Regions from separate parts of the Homo sapiens genome. Here all the other regions are linked to region 3. The links are contacts of gene promoters, found by promoter capture Hi-C in human tissues and cell types (Jung and others, 2019). All regions are on one chromosome and are shown on one strand. Each heading gives the region's core, a stretch centred on a gene start or on the middle of the fragment in contact. The rest is flanking DNA. Distances are from core to core; before and after follow the strand shown. Region 1 has its middle 120 kb from the start of LINC02248. Region 2 overlaps LINC02250 (long intergenic non-protein coding RNA 2250). Region 3 holds the start of ATP10A (ATPase phospholipid transporting 10A (putative)). Region 4 overlaps LINC02250 (long intergenic non-protein coding RNA 2250). Region 5 has its middle 130 kb from the start of LINC00929. Region 6 overlaps LINC02250 (long intergenic non-protein coding RNA 2250). Region 7 has its middle 54 kb from the start of LINC00929.

What was found. Contacts are between HindIII fragments. The study calls those that stand out against the background at their distance.
Region 1: a contact is called between a fragment that was not itself captured here and the fragment with the promoter of ATP10A in region 3, in 1 of the 25 tissues and cell types used here (thymus).
Region 2: a fragment that was not itself captured here is called in contact with the fragment with the promoter of ATP10A in region 3 in 3 of the 25 tissues and cell types used here (aorta, dorsolateral prefrontal cortex and mesendoderm cells).
Region 4: a fragment that was not itself captured here is called in contact with the fragment with the promoter of ATP10A in region 3 in 1 of the 25 tissues and cell types used here (IMR-90 fibroblasts).
Region 5: a fragment that was not itself captured here is called in contact with the fragment with the promoter of ATP10A in region 3 in 1 of the 25 tissues and cell types used here (H1 embryonic stem cells).
Region 6: a contact is called between a fragment that was not itself captured here and the fragment with the promoter of ATP10A in region 3, in 2 of the 25 tissues and cell types used here (IMR-90 fibroblasts and dorsolateral prefrontal cortex).
Region 7: a contact is called between a fragment that was not itself captured here and the fragment with the promoter of ATP10A in region 3, in 1 of the 25 tissues and cell types used here (H1 embryonic stem cells).

What each region holds. Positions count from the first base shown.
Region 1 is chr15:26,268,900-26,271,599 of GRCh38, reverse strand. No RefSeq gene overlaps it. Among named protein-coding and RNA genes, the nearest start is that of LINC02248, 120 kb to the left of the region's middle. The HindIII fragment of the contact is 6,664 bases long and covers 1-2,700 here.
Region 2 is chr15:25,498,683-25,501,419 of GRCh38, reverse strand. It overlaps LINC02250 (long intergenic non-protein coding RNA 2250), which reads left to right. Exons shown (of 5, transcript NR_187215.1): 4 at 168-335. Among named protein-coding and RNA genes, the nearest start is that of UBE3A, 61 kb to the right of the region's middle. The HindIII fragment of the contact is 4,387 bases long and covers 1-2,737 here.
Region 3 is chr15:25,861,963-25,864,662 of GRCh38, reverse strand. ATP10A (ATPase phospholipid transporting 10A (putative)) reads left to right here and starts at 1,336. Exons shown (of 21, transcript NM_024490.4): 1 at 1,336-2,015. The coding sequence starts at 1,567. The HindIII fragment of the contact is 9,757 bases long and covers 1-2,700 here.
Region 4 is chr15:25,457,561-25,460,260 of GRCh38, reverse strand. The region is part of intron 4 of LINC02250 (long intergenic non-protein coding RNA 2250); the gene reads left to right. Among named protein-coding and RNA genes, the nearest start is that of UBE3A, 20 kb to the right of the region's middle. The HindIII fragment of the contact is 5,774 bases long and covers 1-2,700 here.
Region 5 is chr15:26,246,434-26,249,133 of GRCh38, reverse strand. No RefSeq gene overlaps it. Among named protein-coding and RNA genes, the nearest start is that of LINC00929, 130 kb to the right of the region's middle. The HindIII fragment of the contact is 8,843 bases long and covers 1-2,700 here.
Region 6 is chr15:25,567,213-25,569,912 of GRCh38, reverse strand. All of the region lies in intron 1 of LINC02250 (long intergenic non-protein coding RNA 2250), which reads left to right. Among named protein-coding and RNA genes, the nearest start is that of LINC02250, 10 kb to the left of the region's middle. The HindIII fragment of the contact is 3,421 bases long and covers 1-2,700 here.
Region 7 is chr15:26,168,356-26,171,081 of GRCh38, reverse strand. No RefSeq gene overlaps it. Among named protein-coding and RNA genes, the nearest start is that of LINC00929, 54 kb to the right of the region's middle. The HindIII fragment of the contact is 3,110 bases long and covers 1-2,726 here.

The DNA of each region.
Region 1 (2,700 bases), core at 80-2,579, 410 kb before region 3:
TTGAATAATTTCAATAATTGAACTTTGACAATAATTGAAATTTCAATAAATTGACAACACAATTTTGATGGACTGAATTTACCAAGATAGAGATTTTGCTATTTTTTTAAAGTCCTGCTGAGTCAAAAGGCGGTGCCTGGAAAGTTATAAATGTCCCAACATAAATTATAATTTATCAAAACTAAACCCAATTAGAAAGCTGGGTTTTTTTGTTTTGTGTTTTTTTTTTTTTTGTGAGACAGAGTTTCGCTCTTGTTGCCCAGGCTGGAGCGCAATGGTGCAATCTCAGCTTACTGCAACCTCTGCCTCCTGGGTTCAAGCAATTTTCCTGCCTCAGCCTCCCAAGTAGCTGGGATTACAGCATGCGCCACCACATCCGGCTAACTTTTGTATATTTAGTAGAGATGGGGTTTCATCATGTTGGCCAGGCTGGTCTCGAACTCCTGACCTCAGGCGATCTGCCCGCCTCGGCCTCCCAATGTACTGGGATTACAGGTGTGGGCCACTGCACCCAGCCCAGATAGGAAGTTTAATAGGCTAATTTTCATTGAGGAAACAGAGTAAGCATCCAAAAAGCTGCATGCTCCCCTGCACTGGGAAAGAAAAGGAAAAGGAAAAGGAAAACAAAAGGAAAAGAAAAGAAAAGAAAGGTTCCAAGTCAGGATGATGAATCAAAGGAATTCTATCGAATCTTTAACAATAAGATCTTAAGGTGTTTTAATTATTTGTGATCACAGAAAAGGAAAACTACATTGATCTATAACATGAATTCCAATCCTGTCAAATATTGAACCACAAGAAAAATACAGTCTAATCTCACTTATAATGCAAATGTAAACATTTTATATAAAATATTAACAAGAAAAATCCCACAGCACATTTTTAAAAGTATGCATTATGAAGAAGGAATTCTAGAAATATATAGAATTCCAGAATTTTAGGATGGTTCAATATGAGAAAATGTATTAATGCATTTCACCATATTAATAGATCTAAGAATAGAACTCATAATCAGATACTGCCATAGATATTAAAATGTTATTCTAAAATATTTGCTACTCAGTCACAATTTTAAAAAATGCTTAGTATTTTACCATGGTAATAGATCATATTCAGATACTTCTATAGATAGTAAAATGGTATTAGAAACAATTTGACACTTAGCCCTACTTTTTTAAAAAAGCTTAATAGGTCATCCAAAATTGGGCAGAATCCCTATGCAATCCTGAAACACAAAGTGGAACACATGGCAAGACGTCATATATTCTGGAGCAAATGATTCAGGAGCATACGCTTGTCAACTCTCCCTTAAGTTAATATAAAACTTTAATGTGATTCCAATAAAAATAACATTTTTTCCTCTGGCCCAGACTAATTGATTTTAACTTTTATGTAGAAAATTAAGCAATCAAGAATAGCAAGGACAACTGTGAAAAGGAATAATGATGAATAAGGTTAGTTCTACCAGATATTAAGACATATTATAAAGTGCTATAATTAAATCATATTAATAATGCATTAAAAGACACACAGGCCAGTAGAAATAAAGTCCAGAAATAATCCATAGCACATTTGGAATTTGGGGCTGACTAAATATGTGTATTATTTATCTATTCTGTATAACAAATTGTGACAAACTTAGCAGATTAAAACAACACTCAAACCTGCAGCCCTGTGGTTCAGAAGCCTAAGGCATGATTTAGCTGGGCTCTCTGCCTCGTCTCAGTAGGATAGAAGCCATGTGTCATCCGGGCCGTGGCCTTCTCAGGGAGTTAACTGGGGAAAAACCAACTAACTCCTGGCTCCTTCAGGTTGTTGACCAAATTCATTTCCTTGGGTCTGCAGGACTGCAGGTTTCAGTTCCTACCTGAAGGCTGCCCTCAGCTCTCGGATACCACCTGCAGTTCCTTCTCATGTGGGCCTCTCAAACATGGCAGCTTGTTTCTTCAAAGCCAGCAATGGAGAGACTGATTAGAGCATGAGATACTGCCAGCCATATGGACTCGTACAATGTAACAGAAGCACGAGAATGGCACCCCACCACCGCTGCCATATAATGTCATGTAATGCAATCACATGAATGACATCCTATCACTCTTGCCGTGTTCTATTGCTTAGAAGCAAAGTCCTGTCCACACTCCAGGGAGGGATATATGAATTTGTGAATACCAGAAAGTGAGGATCGCCTTTCGGCATCTCAAATCATCTCAAATCACAGAGAAGAATAAATAGTTAATAAAGGGTGTTGGAAAAAAATGGATAGCCCTGTGGAAAACAAAACCTGTGCATCTCTATTGAACATAGTGCACCAACATAACATCCAAATGGATTAGAAATACAAGTGCAGAATGAAATCATTCTAGTACTAGAAGAAAATACGGATGCGTGTCTCAGTAATTTGGGAACGGAAAAGCCTTTTAAATATAACTCAAAGATTGGTAATTTCACTATATTTTAAAATGTTGCAAAAAAAGAAACATAAGCAAAGTCAAAAGACAAATAAGATTAGAGAAAATATTTACAATTCATACCATAGACAAAAGGATTATTTTTCTTAAAGTATAAAGAACTCTTAAACTTTTGGTATTAAGACCAAAAAATTAATAACACAATCTGTGCGCAAAGCACAGAAACAGACACAAAACATGTAATCACACAAAAATACTTATGGTAATTTACTTGTACTCATAGTAAAAAGAA
Region 2 (2,737 bases), core at 137-2,636, 360 kb after region 3:
TAATTGTATTCTGATGTCAAATACATAGTAAAATATGAGCTTATTTTTGTGGCACTGCATTAAAAATACATTTCTTGAGCTCCTTTTTTGGTTCATTCTATTTTTATCCCCCGTTTTTTCCTTGGCACTTCCTATCCATGATTTTCTGCATATCTAATATCGCGCAGAGGAAAAAGCACTGCCTGGACCTGTCCACCAGCAAGCGGACATTGCTTTGCATAAACAGGCAGAGGGGCAGGCACCTCAAGGGACTCGCAGAAGTGCCTGGGTATTTTTAAATACTTGAGGAGAACACAAGGATGCCTGTCGGACATCTCAGGAACTGCTAGCTCCAGGTAAATTGGTTTTAACATTAGGTTGCTAAATTTCCTTCCATGATGTCATATCTTTGCAAAGCTTGGTTTTTGGTGACTGTTGTGATAGTTGTGGGGGAAAAAGTGATATGTCCTATCTAATTCCAAGGTTTTACATATTGCTAGTGCCCAACTGATGCACCTACATATCATTAGTAAATAATTGTGGTTATTTAATATTACAATAAAATATGATTTATTTTCTTCCAATTTGTACATATTATTTTTTACCCAGCTCCTAAGTTGTTAGGACATAAATACTTATTAAGGTAGTTGGACCCAACAAGGTCATAAATAGAACTGTTAGGTATTTCATGTGGCCTCAGGGCCCTGTGAATAAGATTACTAAGACATTAAGGGTGCTGTGAACTGAAAATGTTTAGGAACTGCTGAACTAAACTATTCACAGAGGTGAGCTGGTTTATTCCTCTCAAACATCTTAGTCATTTCAAGGCTGGGCATGATAGCTCACAACTGTAATCCCAGCACTTTGGGAAGCTGAGGTCAGAGGATTGCTTGAGGCCAGGAGTTCGAGACCAGCCTGAGAAACATAGTGAGGCCACATTCTCCACACAAAAAAAGTAAAAATTAGCTGGGTGTGGTGGTGCACACCCGTAGTCCTAGCTACTTGGGGAGCTGAGGCAGGAAGATTGCTTGAGCCAAAGATGTTGAGGCTGCAATGAGCCATGAGATTGCACCACTGTACTCTAGCCTGGGCCACAGAGTGAGACTCTGCCTCAAAAAAAATTAATTAATTAATTAAAAATCATTTCAAAGTATGAACCATGAATTTAAATAACTGATATAAAAATCTGGAAAGAATGAATCAGAAATAAAAGAAAAGAGCTTGGGTTTGAATCTTGCCTGCCCCACAAACTGGGTGAGATCAGGTGACCTATCTGAAACTTGGTTTTCCTCTCCTTTGTGTGGGTTAGAGGAGATAAGGTCTCAGCACCTAAGATCCTTCCTGGTACTTAAAAATGCACAATAAGTGGTATCAATTATGATTTCTAAATCAGACATGACCCATACAAACATTTCCTTCCTGGAAAGGAGGGGTCTTAATTTGGGGAGTCCAGTGCAAAATAAAAATATGAGGATTTTTGTTCAAAAATTAGTAAGAATTTCAAGATGGTCTCAACAGAGCTGATCAGCTGTGAAGCTACGTGAAGCTGCCCCTGCTCTTGCCAATTTTCTCAGGGTTTTCCAGCTCAAATGAATCTTTCTGCACCGAATCTTTATACTCTTATCACCTGTGCCAAATAATTAGTAGCTCACCATTATCCTGGTCCCCAGTCAACTGTAGCAATATGTAATATCATCATATTCACTACTAGCTGCATGGTGACATTCTATTTCCCAAGTGGACTGTGTTAGTCTGTTTGTGTTACTATAGAGGAATGCTTAATGGCTGGGTAATTTATAAAGAGAAGAGGTTTAACTGGCTCACAGTTCTGTAGGTTGTGCAGGAAGAGTGATGCCAGCATCTGATTCTGGTGAGGACCTCAGGAAGCTTCTATTTGTGGCAGAAGGGAAAAGGGAGCAGTCGCATCACATGGCAAGAGTGGGAGCAAGAGAGAGAGAAGGGGTAGGTCTCCCCAGACTCTTTTAAACAACCAGATCGTGCATGAACTAACTGAGCAAGAACTCACTTATCACCAGGAGGATGGTATTAAACCATTCATGAGGGATTTGCCGCCATGATCCAATCACTTCCCACCTGGCCCCACCTACTACACTGGGAATCACATTTCAACATGAGATTGGAAAAAACATCCAAATGATATCACAGATGATCGCATCTTTGTGGGCAAGGGGCTGTAAAGAGTGCTGACTCATTTTCCACCCCACAGCCTCTAGGCACCGCTGGCACATATTAGATGCTCAACAGATACCTGTTGACTAAATAATTGATGGGAGGGTGGTATGGCTATATAGTTGTTAGCCTCTTACTACCATAATCTCCAGGCTGTAAAGGCTGTGAGTGGTAGACTGAAAGCATGCCAGGTAATCTCTATAGAGGGCATACTAAAGAAACTAAGAGGACATCGCACAAGTGGGTGTGTTCATCCTGTGTGTGTGTGTGTATTTCGTTTTCGTTTACGGTTTTTCATATGAATAAGCTTTATTTTTGGAACAGTTTTAGGTTCACAGTAAAGTGAAGCAGAAAGTACAGACAGTTCCTATATACCCTCTGACCCCACACATGCACAGACTCCCCCACTACCAACATTCCCCACCAGGATGGTACATTTGTTACTACTGTTGAAATGGTATTGACACATCATCACTCAAAATCCACAGTTTACATTAAGATTCACTCTTGGTGTTGTATATGGGTTTTGATAGGTGTATAATGACAAGTTTCTACTGTTATAATATCA
Region 3 (2,700 bases), core at 87-2,586:
TGTCAAAAGCCCACCCCTGTGACTGGGGGATGGGATTATTTTCTTCACACCTGTCACCACTCTACCTTCTAACACTGGGTTCTGGGCAACATTGTGGATGGTGGCAAAACTGGGCAGAGATGTAAGAATGTCATAACTGGAGCCGGGTAAGCCAGGGTGCTGGAGGGGAGGGCCTCCCCAAGCCAGGGTCCTGGCGAAGACGTGATTTGAGTCCATCCAGGGCAGTGCCTTGTTAGCAGGCACCCCCAGGAAGAGCCTGGGGCCACGGCCAACCGCCCAGCCACGGCCTCCTGGGCAAGAAATAACTGCTTCTCATCTCTGTACTTCTTGAGTGGGAGGCAAACAGTCACAGCCATGAAACATCTGTGGGGTCTCACTGCGGACGTGGGGGACTCCCAGCTCCTTTTTCCATGCCGTGCTTATTCTCCCACCCCTTCTCGGATGCCCCATGATGTGGAGGGGAGCCCTTCGCCCCACACTTCTGGGACACCCTCCTGACGCTCCCCTCTCCTCCCCACAACCATCCTCGCCTCCCCACAACCATCCTCGCCTCCCCCGCCGTCCGGGCCATGACAGCCACCTCAGAGCTACAGCGCACAAGGAGCGTTTCGGTCCTCATGATTTCCCAGGGAGGGAAACAGACACTCAAATACCTGCAAACCAAATTCTGTCTTTGCTATAGCGATATATTTCTCCTTTCCATGAAGAAAGAACAGAAAAAAGAAAAAGAATTTATTTAGGAGAGGAAGGAAAGGCAGTAATGATGATGGTGGAAAGGAAACGGTCTAGTTCGCCCAACAACGGAATCTGAAAGTGGTGGGGGCTGGGAAGTGGGGTAGGAAAGAAGTTCTTAGAGGCAACGCGGAATCGCCCTTCCCAGGGCTCCCCAGGAGCAGAGGTCCTGCGTAAAAAAGACTTAAAAATTGGAGCACTGGATGCCATGGATCCTTTGGATTTTGATTCCAGTTGATCCCTGGAGTAAGGTCCTAACCGGGGTCTCCCGAGGTCGTTTCGCCGTCCAGGATGGAGCAGGTCTGGCCCCTGGAAGGGCGCGCGGGCTGCTTGGGGACGGGGGCGCCTTTTCTCGCGCTTCGCGGTTTCCTCTCTCCTACTGCAGGCAGCGCGCGTTTGCAGCGTTTTGGGACCGAACTGATGCTTCTGGGAAACGAAACTAAACCTCTCTGAAGTTTCCAGCTCGGGCTTTTTTTGTTTCCCGCTATCCGGCGTGGCCCAGTCCGGGCGCGGAACGAGGGCGGGGCCGTGGCCACCGCGGCGGAAACGACCCGGGCCGGGGGCGGGCGGCGAGGACAAGGGGGCTCTGTGCGGCACCCGCCCAGCTTGCGCCCTGGGGACTGCGGCCGGGCGGCGGGGCTGGACGGGAGTGGACGGGGCTGGGCGCGGGCTGGGCGCGCTGGGCCGGCCAGGCGGCGCGCTGACCGCGGTCTCCGTGCGTCCCGCAGGCGGGGAGCTCGCACCGCCGCGCCCGGGCCGCGAGTGATGATAACCTAAGAGGCCGGCGCGGGCGGGCGTGAGCGGCGGAGGAGCCGGGCGCGGCGACACGCGGCCATGGAGCGGGAGCCGGCGGGGACCGAGGAGCCCGGGCCTCCGGGACGGCGGAGGCGCCGAGAGGGCAGGACGCGCACGGTGCGCTCCAACCTGCTGCCGCCCCCGGGCGCCGAGGACCCTGCGGCTGGCGCGGCCAAGGGCGAGCGGCGACGGCGGCGCGGGTGTGCCCAGCACCTGGCCGACAACCGGCTCAAGACTACCAAGTACACGCTGCTGTCCTTCCTGCCCAAGAACCTGTTCGAGCAGTTCCACCGCCCGGCCAACGTGTACTTTGTCTTCATCGCGCTGCTCAACTTCGTGCCGGCGGTGAACGCCTTCCAGCCCGGCCTGGCACTGGCGCCGGTGCTCTTCATCCTGGCCATCACGGCCTTCAGGGACCTGTGGGAGGACTACAGCCGCCACCGCTCCGACCACAAGATCAACCACCTGGGCTGCCTGGTCTTCAGCAGGTGAGTTGGGCGGGCGGGCGAGCGAGCGCGCGGTGGCGCAGGGCAGGGCGCCCCGGGAACTTGGTGTTGGGCACAGTGATTGGCAGGGGCTGGGTGCTTAGAAGGCAGCTCCACTCAGGGTGGAGGGCCCGGCTGCGCGGGACCCGGTGCCGACCGAAGCCACAGCGCCGCCAAGGCCTCTCTGTGCCTCCGCCGCAGCTAAAGGGGCGCCCTGGATGCGGGGACGCGTGGGGATCCCCTGTCACTCCGTGTCGGGGCCAGAATGATCCCAAGGCTAGAAACCGACGGCCGCTGGACATCCTCATCCACAGCCGCTCCCACCTGAAGTGAAAGGCAGGAAAAGCCAGCCTGGCCCCCTGGCCTGAAGTCCCTGCCTCAGTCTTCGGCCAGGCACAGTGGTCTCTGAACAGCCGGCACAGGACAGTAAAGCTCAGTCTGCTAACAGCTCGGCTCAGGACAGCAGCAAAGTGAAACTGCCGCCAAGTGCTGATATGTCTGGCACGGCCCAGGTACCAGGGCAGGGGAAATAACAGCAGTGTCCATCCTCCACTGTGAGCCATGAGCCGCGAGCCAGGCACCGCCCGGTAGCTGCCTGCCTAATTTTCTTCATCTTAACCTGCTTCCTGGGGGAAAGAGGCTGTGGGGTGTTTGTGAGCCCTGCCACGGGCAGTACCAGGGGTGACCC
Region 4 (2,700 bases), core at 192-2,691, 400 kb after region 3:
GAAACTACCATCAGAGTGAACAGGCAACCTACAAAATGGGAGAAAATTTTCGCAACCTACTCATCTGACAAAGGGCTGATGTCCAGAATCTACAATGAACTCAAACAAATTTACAAGAAAAAAACAACCCCATCAAAAAGTGGGTGAAGGACATGAACAGACACTTCTCAAAAGAAGACATTAATGCAGCCAAAAAACACATGAAAAAATGCTCACCATCACTGGCCATCAGAGAAATGCAAATCAAAACCACAATGAGATACCATCTCACACCAGTTAGAGTGGCAGTCATTAAAAAGTCAGGAAACAACAGGTGCTGGAGAGGATGTGGAGAAATAGGAACACTTTTACACTGTTGGTGGGACTGTAAACTAGTTCAACCATTGTGGAAGTCAGTGTGGTGATTCCTCAGGGATCTAGAACTAGAAATACCATTTGACCCAGCCATCCCATTACTGGGTATATACCCAAAGGACTATAAATCATGCTGCTATAAAGACACATGCACACGTATGTTTATTGCGGCTCTATTCACAATAGCAAAGACTTGGAACCAACCCAAATGTCCAACAATGATAGACTGGATTAAGAAAATGTGGCACATATACACCATGGAATACTATGCAGCCATAAAAAATGATGAGTTCATGTCCTTTGTAGGGACATGGATGAAATTGGAAATCATCATTCTCAGTAAACTATCGCAAGAACAAAAAACCAAACACCACATATTCTCACTCATAGGTGGGAATTGAACAATGAGAACACATGGACACAGGAAGGGGAACATCACACTCTGGGGACTGTTGTGGGGTGGGAGGAGGGGGGAGGGATAGCAGATAGCATTAAGAGATATACCTAATGCTAAATGACGAGTTAATGGGTGCAGCACACCAGCATGGCACATGTATACCTATGTAACTAACCTGCACATTGTGCACATGTACCCTAAAACTTAAAGTATAATAATAATAAAATTAAAAAAAATTAAAAAAAAAAAAGAGACGGAGTTTTGCTCTATCACCCAGGCTGAAGTGCAGTGGTGTGATTATAGCTCACTCCAGCCTCCAACTCCTGGGCTCAAGTGATCCTCCTGCCTCAGCCTCCTGAGTAGTTGGGACCACAAGTACACGCTATCATGCCCAGCTTTTTCCCCCTTTCATGTTAGTGCAGTAAACTATATTTACAGATTTAATATTAAATCATCCTTACATAGCTGAAATAAACTCAAATTAGTCATAGCATATTACCTTTTGTATCCTTTGTTAGATTTGAGTTGCTTGTATTTATTTAGGATTATTGCATCTATATCAGTGAGTAAAGTGAGCTGATAATTTTTTTATAATGTCTTTGCCACCTGTAAAACTAAGCTATAAAACCATTTGACCCTAATTTTTTTGTGTGAATATTGTTAACCATTGCTTCAATCTCTTTAATAATGATAGTCTATTTTTAAAACATTTGTTATAATTTTTATATATTTTCAAAAGTTATAAAGTTGTGTATTATTTTATTTTCTATAATTTAGTCAATATTTTTTGTTTTTAATTTACATGCATATTCTAACTATATTTACAAAAATGAGGCCTTGTAGTTTTTAAGTTTTATACAAAATGAGTTTTGTGGTTTTTATCAGTTGTTTTTAAAGCTTTCAGTATATTATGAACGGCTTCCCTGGTCTTGTTCAACACTGAAAATAATTTCATATTATGAAGAAATAAATTTAACATCTAATCATTTGGGAGCTAGACATTTCACCTCTTTACAACAGAATTTAATACTTTGAGTACCAGGAGAAGTCCCAGCTATAAACACATTGTAATCTGTTCTTTTATAGTTTCATACGTATTACGCTTTGGAAATTTTTCTTTCAACTTAACCGTTTACCTTGTTATTCTGTATTATTGAATCACCAGTTTAAAATATTTTGAAGCTATTTTGTTAAGTACACACATGTTTAAAACAGAGGTATCAACTTGGTGTGTTGAATGACCTTTTCTATCTAATAATACGAAAAAGAATAGGACTTAAGACCATAAGCACTAATAGGGTTGGAAGGGATCACTACATAATGAGAAAAGGTTGGTGTTTGACATCCTTATACTTTCATCCTTATAGTTTCAACTTTTGCATGTTCATGTTTTTTTGACTGTAGGTTTCCTTCATTTACATATATTGACAGTACTGATGTATTTGGATCTGGTTAGTGGATAATGGATCTGCCCAGATTCTTGTGGATCCTTTTCAGCCATTTTTGCTTAGCCCCCACTGTCAGGGAGTTTTTTATTTCCTACAGCTATCACTTGCCACTGTTTAAAGTAACTGTCTCAGTCTCCTAGTCCCCCAGACCCTCTGGAGGTACCCAGGAAGAATTCATCAGTGAATGATGGGGGTGAGAACATAGAAGCCATAAACACACACTCCAGAGTTGCTCTTCCAGGTCACCCGAAGCCACCACTGCATGTTCATGAGGTTGTGCCTTGCTTCGCTTTGTTCCTGTCCATGTTCTGTTTCACCCACTCCATTACCAGTTTCCCCTGGGAGCATTTCTTTAGTAAAACATTTATACAAGTATTCTCATCTTACAGTGTGCTTTTAGGGAATCTCAAAACCCATTTTTACAATCTTAGTTTACTATTTCAGTTCTCTCCCACTTTTTCCATCATTTAATTTGTCTTCCTTTTTTTTGCGGGGGAGGGG
Region 5 (2,700 bases), core at 150-2,649, 380 kb before region 3:
TCTATCAGGCCAGGTTACCGTGATAACAAAGCCAGACAAAGACACTGCAAAAGAAAACCACAGACCAATATCCCTTATGCAGAAAACCCATGACAAAATATGAGCAAACCAAATTCAACAGCACATTAAAAAGTCAATTTACCATTATCAAGTGGGATTTATTACTGGAATCCAAAGATAATTCAACATACCAAAATTGAACAAGAAAGAAAATACAACACATTAAAAGAAAGAAGAAAAAAAATCATTATCTCAATCAATGCGGAAAAACCGTTTGACAAAATTCAACATCATTTTATGAGAAAAACATTCAGCAAACTAGAAGTAGAACAAAACTACCTCAACATAATAAAAGCCACATGTGAAAAACCCATAGTGAACATCATACTCAATAGTGAAAGACTGAAACTTTTCCTCTAAGATTGAGAATAAGATAATCATGTCTGCCTTCATGATTTCTATTTAACATAGTACTAGAAGTTCTAGCTAGAGCAATTAGGTGGAATAAATAAATAAAATCCAGATTAGAAAAAAATAAGTTAAAGTGTCTTTGTTCACAGACGATATATTCTTACATGCAGAAAATCCTAAGGATTGAAAAAAAAAAACTGCTGGAACTAATGAATGAATTTGGCAAATTATCAGAATAGAAAGTCAAAATACAAAAATCAGTTGCATTTATATATATCTATAATAAACAACCCAAAAAGAATATTATGGAAACATTTCCATTTATAACAGCATTAAAAAGAAAATATACACTCAGGAATTAAATTAACCAAGGAAATCAAAGATTTGTTCAGCGAAAACTATGGAACATTATGGAAAAAAGTTAAGGAAGACATAGATAAATAGAAACATATTCCATGGTCATGGATGGGAAAACAATATTGTTAAGATGTCAATACTACCCAAAATGATCTACAGATGAAATACAATTTCTATTAAAATGCCAAAGACATTTTTTACAGAAAAATTTTAAAAACCATCTTAAAATTCATATGGAATTTCAAAGGACCCAAAATAGCCAAAACAATTTTGAAAAAGAACAAAGCTGGAGGACTCACACTTTCTGATTTCAAAACTTACTACAAAGCTACTTAAAATGGTGTGGAACTGGGATAAAAATAGACATATAGGTTAATGGAATAGAACACAAAGCCCAGAAGTAAACCCTCACATGTATGATCAAATGATATTTGACAAGTGCGTAGACTATTCAATGGAGAAAGCGCAGTCTTTGCAACAAATGATACTGGGAATACTGGATGTTCACCTGTAAAGGAATGAAGGTGGACCCCTACCTAACACTATGTACAAAAATAAACTTAAAATGGATCAAAGATCTAAATATGAAAACTAAAAGTAAAAACTTAGAAGAAAACATAGGGTGAAAACCACTACATTGAAGATGGCAGTGATTTCTTGGATAAGACATCAAGATAAAGAACAGACAACCAAAGAAAAAATAAACAAATGAGACTTCATGAATTTTTTTTAACTTGTGCATTAACGTATAACATCAAGAGAATAATCAGGCAACCCACAGAATGGGGGAAGATATTTGCAAAGCATATATCTAGTAAGAAATCAATATCCAGAATGTATACAGAACTCCTAAAATTCAACCACAAAAAACCAACCAACCAACCAACTCAATTTAAAAATTAACAAAGGAGGCTGGGTGTGGTGGCTCACGCCTGTAATCCCAGCGCTTTGGAAGGGTGAGGCGGGTGGATCACGAGGTCAGGAGATCGAGACCATCCTGGCTAACACGGTGAAACCCTGTCTCTATTAAAAATACAAAAAAATTAGCCAGGCGTGGTGGCGGGTGCCTGTAGTCCCAGCTACTCGGGAGGCTGAGGCAGGAGAATTGCGTGAACCCGGGAGGTGGAGCTTACAGTGAGCTGAGATCGTACCACTGTACTCCAGCCTGGGCAACAGAGCGAGACTCCGTCTCAAAAAAAAAAAAAAAAAAAATTGACAAAGGACTTGAATAGACATTTCTCCCAAGAAGAGATACAAATGGCCAATAAACACATGAGAAGATGTTCAACATCACTAATAATTAAAGATATGCAAATCAAAACTACAACTAGATACCACCACACACCACTTGGGATGGCTCCTATCAAGAAACAGAAAATAAATGATGATGAAGATGTGGAGAAATTGCAACCTTTGTGCACTGTTGGTGGGAATGTAAAATGATACAGCCACCATGGAAAACAGTATGTCAGTGCATCAAAAATTTGAAGAACTACTATATGATCCAGTAATTCCACTATCATATATATACACAAAAGAATTGAAAGCAGAATCTTAAAGACATTTGTATACCAATATTCATAGAAGTATTATTCATAGTAGCCATAACACGGAAGCAACCCAAGTGATTATGACAGATGAATGGATAGGCAATGTGGTATATATGTATAATGAAATATTATTCAGCCTTAATATGTAAAGAATTTCTGGTATACACTACAGCATGGATGAAGCTTGAAGACATTTTGCAAAGTGAAATAAGCTAGTCACAAAAAGACAAACATTATATGATTCCACTTATATGAGGTACCTAAGCAAAATCATAGAGACAAAAAGTAGAATGCACTTTGATAGGGGATGTGGGGAGGGAGGAAATGAGGAGTTACTGTCCATTGGGTATAGAATGTCAGTTTTACAAGATGAAGAGTAATG
Region 6 (2,700 bases), core at 77-2,576, 290 kb after region 3:
AAAAAGACAAACAAATGTATTAATGTGCACAGGGGACAATCACAGAGTGATCACCCACTTACTCGGTGCCCTACAGAAGCTCATTTACCCTTTCCTAGGGGTGGAGGTGATGGGAAATGTAGATGATCTTTTGATGGGCAGGAAATCATTAGGGAAGATGAATGGACCCCAAAGGCAGGAGGCAGATGCTCTGGGAAAGTGGGGTCAGAGCTGCACAGGAACAAAGGTTGTCTTATTCTGCAGGTAAAGCCCCCCAGGTAATCTCTTGGAGCTGCTCTTAGAAGAATAGATGAAAAGTCCGTCTGGGCACAGTGAGGACTCTGAGTCTTTTCTCTTCTGTGCTTGATCGTCCTGCTTCTTTAATGAGATTCCTAAGGAGGGAGTCTTAAGACAATTGCATTTAAGCTTTCTTAGATAAGGAAATTCTAGAGAAGAGTCCCTCTTGGTGCTTCAGGAAAGAGTATCAGGGAGACAAAGAGGTGGGGAAAAAGTCAGAGAGAAACCTTGACCCTAAGGCTTATTTTGGAGGCCTTTCAATTGTCAAAGCACTCCGCATGCCAAAGCGCCATATTTTGGGGAATCATTTCCTGTGCCCCAACACCTATCACTGGATCTTCCTTCCAGACTGTGATTCAGGCCAACACTCCCCTTTGTGGTTGAGGTAGCTAAAATTAGGATTTCTGTGGTTATTTTTAACCAAAAGCATCTGACATTTTAACTGAAGCAATTGTTATCATTTTCATTCAAGGGGTGAGGAGATTATCAATATGCTGGGAGCTCAGCTGGGCATGCATTTCTGGATCCTCACTCAGGGAGAAAAACTCACCGACTGTGCGATTGGCAGCAGCTACAAACCAGCACAGTCTGCAGGTCACAGTGACAAGTTTCAAATAGAAACCTGGCATCCAAAAATATACAGCTTTGGCCACGAAAGCATGGGGTTATTCCAAAGTATTCTGAGGCTAGTCTTGCTGGCGCCCACAGTGGCCTATTCTGAGGCATGTTTTAAATAAGAGTCCTGGCAGCAGGCCTCCAAGCTTCAGAAATATAAGCTGGTTCCTCTCATCAGTCACTGACTGTCTCTCCGAATGTTGTCGAATCTGGATGTTCTCAGCAGTTCAATTGTTCTTCACATTGTCCTTTGTGCGAGCCAAGGAACTGAACTTTCTAAGTAAAGATTTAAAAAGCATCCTTGCAATGAAGGTAGAAGGTCTACTGGCTGGGTTGAGCCTCTCTGCTGTCTTCAATGGCATCTGGAACTCAAAAGGCACCTGGAAGCATTTTCCACCTTCCATACATGGGTGCCAGTGTTCAGGCCTGTGCCAGGGTCCCAGGGTCAGGGTCGCCAGGCTCTGCCTTCTCCTGGGATAACTGTTGGCTCCACCCACGATACTATCAGTGCAGTGTTCCTGAGCAAACGTTCAATGGGCAGCATGCAGAAGCCACTTTTGGAATTCCCCCATATGTCTTTTCTTTCCATCTAGCTTCAGAAATATATGTAAACATGTGGAAACCTTGCTTAAAATGAGCTCAATTCTGTGACGTGCTCTCTAAAAAGCATAAATGTATAATGAGAATACATTTAGTCGTGGAATTTAGGGCCATAAAAATGACTCTCTCATCCCGACGACCTCACCTGCCCTCAAGCAGGCTATGCCCTGGCACTCGCCCATGCAGGAGGCAGGTTGGATGCCCTCATCCTCCAAGACACAGATTGGGGATGAGCCTGCAAGCTCCTGCTTCCTCCACGGAGCTGACACAGCTCTCAAAAACACACAGGGCACTGCCCACAGGGCTTCTGTGGGTCGGCCTTGGGCTCACCAATCACATTCATGCCTGATGCCTTGTTGTTCCTTTCCATTGTTACACGTTGGTAGCCCAGCCAGATCAAAAGGAGCCATTTCCATGTTAAAACACAGTCCACCCATCTGTCTTTTGCCTCTTCAGGCTACAGTTCTCGCCCCTGCAGGGACGGTCAAGGGCTCCAGCAGGTGATGTCTCTCTCTGGCCTTCCTGACTCCCCTGACCCTACATTTCAAGGACATCTGTGCAGCCCCTTTCTTATGCCTCCTCCCCTGATCACAATAGTCTAGTTCATGTCAGAGTTCCTGAGTTAAATGCCACATGAACTGTTCTCTAGCATACCAAGCTTCTTTTGTCACTGAATTTTGATAAGGACTCCCTCCTAGCCAGGCTCCTGGAACCCTCTTCTTAACTAAGCCTTGTCCTTGGCCTGCTAAGCCCAGTTTCAATCCCCACCTTTGACAACTCATCAAATTCCTCTTAGTAATTTTTCATCCATTGATCCTGTCTCCTTGCCCGTTGGCTACAAATCCCCAGATGTCATTGCTGTACTTGGAGTTGAGTTCTGTCTCTCTCCCTTATTGCGATAGTCTTGACCCTTAGTGAAATAAGGAAAATGCAAGCCTAAAACAACGAGGCAGAGAACACAAACTGATAAAGCAGCATCCGGGATCTGGCCATAAGTATACAGAATGGCAAGGGCAGATGTTTTTTAACTAGAAAAGATTCCTAATTCTCTTCTTAAAAATAAAATGAAGCCAGGAAAATAAAGGTCTTTAAAAATTAACCTGCTTCTACACACACACACACACACACACACACACACACACACACAAAGTGATTAATTTCCAAACCAGGAGCATAACACTGAAGCGGCATTGTTGTCTGGGGTAAATA
Region 7 (2,726 bases), core at 88-2,587, 310 kb before region 3:
TAACATTTTCTACACCATAAAATCCGTATGAAAATCTTTGACTTGCAAGTATTTAGCATTTGCTTGAGTGAACCACATAAATCTCAGCCATAAGGATAATCTCTCAGAGCATCATCAGAAAGATAATGGTGGGTTACAATGAAGATGCAGCATCCGACTAAGGTTTCACAATAAAATGTAAAACATTCAGAGATAGCCCTTCATGCAATGAGAGTGCTGAATAATAACAATGATCTCATTTAAATTTATGTATCGGATAATGAAATGAAATGGCCCCATCATTTCCAGAGGAATCTGTAGAAATCACTGGTTTCATTATTTCATGTCCTGTGCTCTAGAGCTCACCTGGCGTGTAAATGGTCTCATTTATATCCTGTGTTCCTTCCACATCCCTTACACTCTCATCGCCATAGTCACTAATGTACTTTAATGAGAGCAAAGCATGGGGAGACTCAAATGAACCAATAAAAATAGAAGGGATAAAGTATTATTAGGTGGAATGAATACAAAACTAAACTTATGCTATGTGAAGTGCTGTTGATTTTATTGATGCAGGCTTACAAAGGCATGCCAAATTCATGCTTTAGCTGCCCATGAATAATGGCAATAGCAAATCATTTTCTCTAATAAGACATCACTACCATCTTTTCTTCAGGGTCCAAGTTTCCAAATTAATAACCATTTTTATTAATTTTCTTGGATGAAGCGACTACAGTTAGAAATAGTTTCTCCCTCCGGTCCCCATTTATTTCCTACACACAGACTTATGAAGTCAGACATAATTCTAACATTGTTATATAATCAGATTTATCTGTCTGGCAGTGGCAGAGTTTGGGGGCATTTTTTTTTTTTTTTTTTTTTTTTACCAATTTACATGCAAGCTTTAAAAGGGGAAAATTTAAATTTTTAAATGAGGCATAAAAGTGGAAGCAAAAGTTAGTTTCAGTAAACAGCAGAGAGCTGAAAAAAAGTGAAAAATTGGTTTCCTTAAGGGGAATACAGTAAACGACAGGAAACAAGAGGAGAGGAAGACGTGAGAGGAGAGAGCGATGGAGAGGCCTCCTGTTAGCCAGCTCAGATGGCACCTCCTTAAGACCTGCTGCACAAGAAGCACTTTCCTACATGTTTCCAGGAAGCATAGGTGACAAGAGTAGCTTACAGGTGCCTCTGCACTCCACAGGTGGGACACATGATGGAAGCACCAGGCAGATAGACTCATTTTTCTTAATACTAAATGCTGTGTCCAAAGGCTTGCTGGAGAGGAGACTGTCCGTGGGCTCCTGTTTTCACTTTTCAATTCCAGAGTTGATGGCAAAAATCTCAGTTTGGAAATGATGAAGAAAGAACCAACCTTTTGCTGTATTCTCCACACCTCCTGCCATCATCACCAGAGTCTCTGTCTATATAAGAACAGTAATTCTTATTCATTGAACATTTAAAATATGCCGAGAACAATACAAGGCTTCATAGACATTGTCTTATTGTATCTTCACAATGACCATGTGAAGGAGGCATTGTACATCCTGGTTTTCAAATGAGGAAGCCAAAAGGCTCAGGTCTGTCCAGGTTCTAACCACTGTGCCCAGTGCCTCCCCAGCACACATCCTAGCTTTACAGGTTCCCATGGGCTCAAAACTGGACTAACATGGTATGGTGGAAGGTGTTAATGAGTGGAAAACCCATTTGGCATAATCCTGAAAATGTTATTGAATGCCTCTGATTCTAAATACTTGTATCTATGAATAGGAAGAATTATATCCACCTAGTTTAGCAAATTGCACTAAGGATTAAATGAAATATTGTTGGTAAAAGCACTCAGTCCACATGAGCTCAACACATGTTCCTCTCCTGGTTCAGGGACAGTCTCCACTCTGCCTCAGCAACTGCCTGTGGCCACTGAGCTCTGCCCCAGTTCAAACGGCATCCTCTGAAAAGCCCTTCCCTAGCCATAGTCCAGGCGCACATGACACTTCCCCAAATCCACTCTTCAGCCTTGTGTGGCAAGAGCCTCCCGGCCAACACCTGGTGCTCCTCTCTCTGGCTTCTCAAACTCAGCATGGACGCCTGCTAATTCATTACCAGTGCAGATGCCTTTGTTGTTTTGTCTCTGTGTCCTAAGTTCCCTCTGAACCTAAAATGGTGTAGACCCTCTCAAAATGCAAAACTGGAAAAATGTGGGCCTTGCAGCCCGAGCCCAGACCTGCTGAACCAGATCGCTCTATGTTGGACTTGAGAATCCAAATTTTAACAGGCTTCCCCCAGTGAGCCATGGATTCCTGAAGTCACAGGATAAAACACACTGACCTTAAAAAGAAGAGGCTGACATGTCCTTTCCAGTGTTAGGTGTTAAAGAAGTTTCTGGGGATTGTACTGTTAGGCAGATGTTTTGCTGTGATGTTAAGTATCATAATCATAACAATGTAACTACATGAACAAATAACAACAGTGATGCTTTTTATTGTAGTAGGAAGTTAGAAAATAAACAGAAAGTAGGCTGAATGTGGCAATTACCAGATAATAGGGTCAGCCAGAAAAGAAATTCAATCAAATGTTTCCAAATACTCTCCTCCAGAGAGAGAGCGAGAGAGAGATTGCTGTAAAATTCCAATTTCTAAATACTCTAGCAGAGTAGCATGTGACAATGGATATATAACGTATCATCTCACAGAATAAAAAGAACTTGCATTAAAACAACCAGACTTCAGATCCACCAACTAAATAGAATT